2 separate regions of the Homo sapiens genome follow, and region 2 is linked to region 1. The links are contacts of gene promoters, found by promoter capture Hi-C in human tissues and cell types (Jung and others, 2019). All regions are on one chromosome and are shown on one strand. Each heading gives the region's core, a stretch centred on a gene start or on the middle of the fragment in contact. The rest is flanking DNA. Distances are from core to core; before and after follow the strand shown.

Region 1 (3,069 bases), core at 1-2,500:
ACCTTTAGGAACCCAAACCACCTAGAAAAAACTGAAAACCACCAGGATGGCCCTCCAGGTGCGAGCTCTCAGCCTCTAAAGCAAGGAGCTGCCGTAACCTGGGCAGCTGCTTCAGCCCATTCCTCAGGCACCTGAGAAGCATGGGAGGGAGGCTTGGGATGCCAGCTTGGCAAGCTCAGCTGGTTGGTTCAGCAGTTGATCACTTCCCATTCCCAGGCTCCCTCCAGGCCTGTAATTAACTGAGTGGATGCAGCTCTCATGGGAGGGGAGGGCCAAGTAAGGGAAAGTGATAATTAATGCTCATTAGTAGGGGGTGTCTGCTGGGAATTCAGCCTTCTGTAAATCATTGCCTGGCTTCAGAAAACCTCTTGGGCACTGACTGAGCTGGAGGAGAAAGAGAGAAACACCCCCAACCCCTATCCCTGAGTGGAAATTCCCACCTGACCCTTCCTTCCAGGCTGGGGATGAGACTGTCCTTACTAAGTAATCAGCATTCCCCCAACAATCCTACCCCCACACCCTCATCCTCCTAGCATCCATTACAGTAGGGGCAGAGCACTGTGGCTCCAGGCTTCGCCACTTTCAAAATGCAGTGACCCTGGAAGCCTAGCAGTCATTTACACCCAAGTGGGAATTAGCAGTCAGCCACTTTACTAAGCTCAGGAGGGCCTTCCAGAACCCAGGGCAGGTGCTGGGAGAAGCAGAAAGACTGAGGTCCTTTCCACCCCACCACCCAGGAGTGTGGGCCCAGTTGGAAGGGAAGAGCCCAGAGACCGAGGAGGTTCCACATTAGAGTGACAACTCACCGGGTGGAAGACTGGTGGTTGCAGAATGAAGCTGTCAGGAATTGGGTCCAGTTTTTCTCCAGGTGACATGACAGTGGGGCAACTCCAACTGTAGATCCTCGTTCCAGGAGCCCTGCCCCCACTGGGCTGACTCATCTGCCCCAGTCAGGGTCCTAAATGCCTGGAGCAGCTCTCCCAGCTGTTAGTCTCACCTGCGACCTGCAGCGTTTTAATGCTGTCTGGAGCAGCCCTAGGAGGGCAGCGGGCGACCTCCAGGCTCCACACCAGCCCCACTCCCGGTGGTATACAGCAGAGCTCTGGCTGGGCGGGGGCTGTCAGCAGAACTCAGTGTCCAGGGGAGGAAGACTGGCATTAACCAACTAACTACCCACTCCGGGTCTGCAGCACATGGCCATTGCAGAGAGAAGCCAGAGGCTGGCTCCTGTGGGGCCAACGAGGGTTTGTGGTTTCCAACTCGAGCCCTCATTAGGTCAGAGGAAGGGGAGGTGGTACGTGTGCTTAGGTTCCAGAAACAGCCCCACCCCCAGCTCCCTGGACAGCCTTGGGTGACTTCCCATTCCTTCCTCCCTTCACCACAAAGGGTTTTATCTCTTCCCCTCATTTTCTTTTTTTTTTTTTTTTTTTGAGATGGAGTCTTGCTCTCTTGCCAGGCTGCAGCGCAGTGGCGCGATCTCAGCTCACTGCAGCCTCCGCCTCCTGGGTTCAAGCAATTCTCCTGCCTCATCCTCTCTGGGACTACAGGCATGTGCCACCACGCCCGGCTAATTTTTGTATTGTTAGTAAAGACTGAGTTTCACCATGTTGGCCAGGATGGTCTCGATATCCTGACCTCGTGATCCGCCCGCCTTGGCCTCCCAAAGTGCTGGGATTACAGGCATGAGCCACCACGCCTGGCTCTCTTCCTCTCATTTTCTTGCCCCTTCCTCTACTCTTCTTCCTTTTCCAAGTTTTACAGCCCCCTGAGGCTCCATTTCAGCATCAGCTGGAAATGCTGGGGCCCAGCTGGGGTCACAAGAAAGTAGAATGAGGGAAGGGGAAAAAGCAGAGCCCCTTAAGCTTGGAAAAGGCAGCACAAGAAGCACAGAACTGCGCAGGAGGGAGACTTGAAACTTGACTTCCTCTTCAGCCTCTCGTCTAATGTGCTGTGTGCCCTTGGGAAAGTCACTTCCTATCTCTGGGCCACCCTTTGTTCATCTGTACATGGAGAAAGTGACCATAGCAGCATGTCCCACAGCGAGGCCTGTATCTGGGGGTGGGCCCAAATATCTGCATTTTACTACAGTCCTTCCAGTTCTGGTTCAAATCCCAATAAGGCTTTCCCTTTAAAAAGCAGCACAACCTCTCAACTTTATCCTGAGTTAGGAGGTTCCAGGATCTGACCCATTGCATCAGACTTGGCAGCAGGGAATTCCTGGACCAGGACCAGGCTGGGCAAAGGCTCAAGCGCATGGGGTGCTGAGGGCAGAGTAAGCAGCTCCCTGGATGGAGGGAGAGTGCATGAAGGGTCCTGGGATAAGGTATCTTAGCCAGTGCTACCTAAGCTGTGGTCCACAAGCCACCAGCATCAGCCTCACCTGGAAACTTGTTAAAAATGCAAGTTTGGGGTCCCCACCCCAGACCAACTGAGGAGCACTCTCTGGAAGCTGGGGCCAGGAATCTGCATTTTAACAGCCCCTCCAGGTGATTCTGATGCACTTTAAAGTTTGAGAAGCATTGACTTAGGATGGAACTAGAAGGGCTTTGGGTGCGGAGCTGAGTTTGTTCAGATGTTGCCGAGTAGGTGGAGCTGGGTTACTGAAGGTGCTTATTTGGAGAAATTCAATCAGACGTGCTCAGGAAGGGTGCTCTGTATACACAGTGAGAGGAAGCTAAGGGTGGAGGGGCCAGTTTCTTGAAGAAAAGAGTCAAATTCTGAAATAGTTGAAGAGATTTATTCTGACCCAAATATGAGTGACCAATGGCCTGTGACACAGCCCCAGGAGATCCTGAGAACGTGTGCTCAAGGTTATTGAGCTAGATTTTGGTTTTATACATTTTAGGGAGACATGAGACATCAAGCAATACATGTGATATGTACATTGGTTTGGTCCAGAAAGGTGGCACAACTCGAAGAGGTGGGCTTCCAGGTCATAGGTGGATTCAAAGACTTCCTGATTGGTTATTGGTTGAAAGAGTTAAGTAAGTACCTACAGACCTGGACTCAGTAGAAGGGAGTGTCTGGGTTAAGTTAAGGGGTGTGGAGACCAAGGTTTTATCATGCAGA
Region 2 (3,069 bases), core at 329-2,828, 310 kb before region 1:
GTCAGGAGTTCGAGACCAGCCTGGCCAACATGGCGAAACCCTGTCTCTACTAAAAATACAAAAATTAGCTGGGCATGGTGGCACACGCCTGTAATCCCAGCTACTCAGGAGGGTGAGGCAGGAGAATCGCTTGAACCTGGGAAGCAGAGGATGCACTGAACCGAGATCGCGCCACTGCACTCCAGCCTGGGCGACAGAGCAAGACTCTTGTCTCAAAAAATAAAAAATAAAAAAATAGGCCAGGCGTGGTGTACTTTGCGAGGCCAAGGCAGTTGGATCACCTGAGGTCAAGAGTTTGAGACCAACCTGGCCAACATGGGAAAACCCTGTCTCTACTAAAAATACAAAAATTAGCCGGGTATGGTGGCGCACGCCTGTAATCCCAGCTACTAGGGAGGGTGAGGCAGGAGAATTGCTTGAACCTGGGAGGCAGAGGTTGTAGTGAGCCGGGCTTGTGCTACTACATGCCAGCCTGGGCAACAGAGCAAGATTCCGTCTCAAAAAACAAACAAACAGAAAAAGAAAAGCTCAGCTTTCAGGCCAGCCTTCCTCATCATTCAGATCCCCTGCCCCGGCCCCGTGTACCAGGAAACCTGAGCACCACCCACCCCACCCACCCCACCCACCCCTACTGTGGGCTCTGCCATAGAGCAGCCTCTCTGAGGCCTGGCCCAGGAGCGCTGCCTGCGAGGTCCCTACTGTGCTTCCCTCTCAGGAGGGCTCACCTGGAGAGGGGCTCTCCGCCCGGGGAAGGCCTCCTTCTGCCACTTCCCTGTCTTTGGGTGAGTCCTTGCTGTCTGGGCCCCTGAGCTGGGTGTGGGAGAAGAGCTGCAAGACGAAGCCGGCGGGGAAGCTGCCGTCAGTGAAGTGTCGGACCTCGGCTGGTGCTGCGAAAGTCTCCGTGGGCGAGTCTGGCGATGGGGGCTCTGGAAGGGAGGACGGGATGGAACTGTGAGTGAAAAAGCCTCAGGAGCTGCAGGCGCCCTGCGCCCAGGCCCTGCTCCATCCTCACTGATGCGGATTTCCTCAGAGCACTGCGGCCAGAGCCCACGCCTCCCCCGGGCCTCCCCTTCACCTGGGTCAGGGTCCAGGTTTTTGGTCATAGGTCTGCCTCTTTTCTTTCTGACTGGCTCTTCCCCTGGGGGTTCCTTCCATCTCTGACCACGGGGCTTCTTATTTCCTGGCTCTGTGGCAGGGACAGCTGCAAAAAGAAAAGACCTCATACCCTTTTAAAGAGGCCATCCCCGAACCCTGCCACCCCAGGGCTCCTGAAGATACCTGCCCAGAACACAGGGCCTGTATTTCACCCTGTCCCCAAACCCCCACCTCCACCGGGGCTCACTGGCTTCTCTGTTGACTAACCAGGAAGCTCGAGGGGGCGGAGTCCCCTGGGCCGGCTCCTTTTAGGGAGGGATGGGTTATCCTCAGAGTCAAGGAGAACGACGATTTCGGCTGGCATTCTGGCAGCGTCTGGGTTGGCGTCTGGGTCTGGGTGGGCATCCTGGCCCGAGTCTGCAGGGAGCAAGAGCACAATGAGCTTCTAGTGCCCCAACAAGTCCGACTTCTCCCTTCGCCAGCCCCAGGACCAACTACCTGAGTTGGGTGGGGACGGCTGCTCAGCTCTCACGTCTTGCAAGAGGGCCACCCCTTCACTCCAGGCCTCCAGGATATTGCTCTTCTCAGAAGGGCTCAGGTCCAAGGTGTGAGGGTGCTGCTCCAAGATGTGCGAGCGAGCTGTGTCGGCCGAGGGTGCCCGGATCTCAGCGCCACACACCATGCACAGTGCCCGCCCGCTGCCTCCTGGGCTGCTGCCCACCAGGAACTCCTGCTCCCAAGACACCTGCTGCTTCGGCTCCTCACAGCCATCACTGCCTGCCTCTAGCGGGCTGGGTCTAGGCGGTGGGGTCTTCTCCTGTTGGGTCACTGCGAGGGGAGAGGGGGAGGGTGTTATCACTAAAGGTGCCCACAACCAACAACACTTAGCACGTCTCCAGACTCAGTGGTTTGAGTGGGATGGGGGAGGAGAGCATTTCTGGCCAAAGTGTTCTTCTTCCTTCCCCTGGAGCCCATGAGGCACACGCCACACTCAACACAGCCGATGTGCCCGGGATCCCACGACTCTCGCGTCTATACTTCCTCTTGATCTAGTCTTGGACCTTAGGACTAACTACACATACTTTCCCAACAGGCTGCATTCTTGCAGGTCTCCAGCCTTTGCACATCTGTCCAGACCACCCTAATTGGGCTGGGCAACATCATCCCTGCGAAGCTTTCCAGAACCCCAATCCCTGACAATAGATTTCATCCAAATCTGACTTCTACACTTTCTTGAGGATGAGGAAGGTAAATTCTTTTAATTTTTAAATTTTATTTATTTATTTTGAGACAGAGTCTCACTTTGTCACCCAGGCTGGAATGCAATGGCGTAATCTCAGCTCATTGCAGCCTTGACCTCCTGGGTTCAAGCGATCCTCCTGCTTCAGCCTCCCAAGCACCTGGGACTACAGGTGAGCGCCACCATGCCTGGCTAATAATTTTTTTTTTAAAAGATGGGGGTCTCATTTTGTCACCCAGGCTGGAGTACAGTGGTGTTATCATAGCTTACTGCTGCCTTCAACTCCTGGACTCAAGGGACCCTCCAGCCTTAGCCACCTGAGTAGCTAGGGCTACAGATAGATGCATGCTATCACACCCAGCTAATTAACAAACAAAAAAATAATTTTTAAGAGATGGGGTCTTGCTATGTTGCCCAGGCTGGTTGTGAACTCCCGGGCTCAAGCAATCCTCCTGCTTCAGCCTCCCAAAGTGCTGGGATTATAGGCATGAGCCACCATGCCCGTTCTAAAGGCCACCCCATCCCCTCAGAACTCGCCTCCCTTCTCAGTGCTCACAGAGCATTTACAGCCATGGTCCCACTCCTATTGCTGCCTGATACCTGCTCTTTGTGTACACAGACAGACCATAAGCTTTCACAGGGCATCACCCTTTCCAGTTCAGCAAAGAAGGCAGCCTTAGACCTGCATCAGCCTGGAAGCTCAGTGCTTTTACGAAGTGCCCATGATCCTTCAC

Evidence for each region. Contacts are between HindIII fragments. The study calls those that stand out against the background at their distance.
Region 2: a fragment that was not itself captured here is called in contact with the fragment with the promoter of LGALS12 in region 1 in 1 of the 25 tissues and cell types used here (pancreas).

What each region holds. Positions count from the first base shown.
Region 1 is chr11:63,504,265-63,507,333 of GRCh38, reverse strand. It overlaps LGALS12 (galectin 12), which reads right to left and starts at 1,250. Exons shown (of 9, transcript NM_033101.4): 1 at 807-1,250. The coding sequence starts at 875. The HindIII fragment of the contact is 17,008 bases long and covers 1-3,069 here.
Region 2 is chr11:63,816,659-63,819,727 of GRCh38, reverse strand. It overlaps SPINDOC (spindlin interactor and repressor of chromatin binding), which reads right to left. Exons shown (of 6, transcript NM_138471.3): 2 at 1,594-1,923; 3 at 1,363-1,512; 4 at 1,076-1,201; 5 at 726-926. Among named protein-coding and RNA genes, the nearest start is that of SPINDOC, 4.7 kb to the right of the region's middle. The HindIII fragment of the contact is 4,226 bases long and covers 1-3,069 here.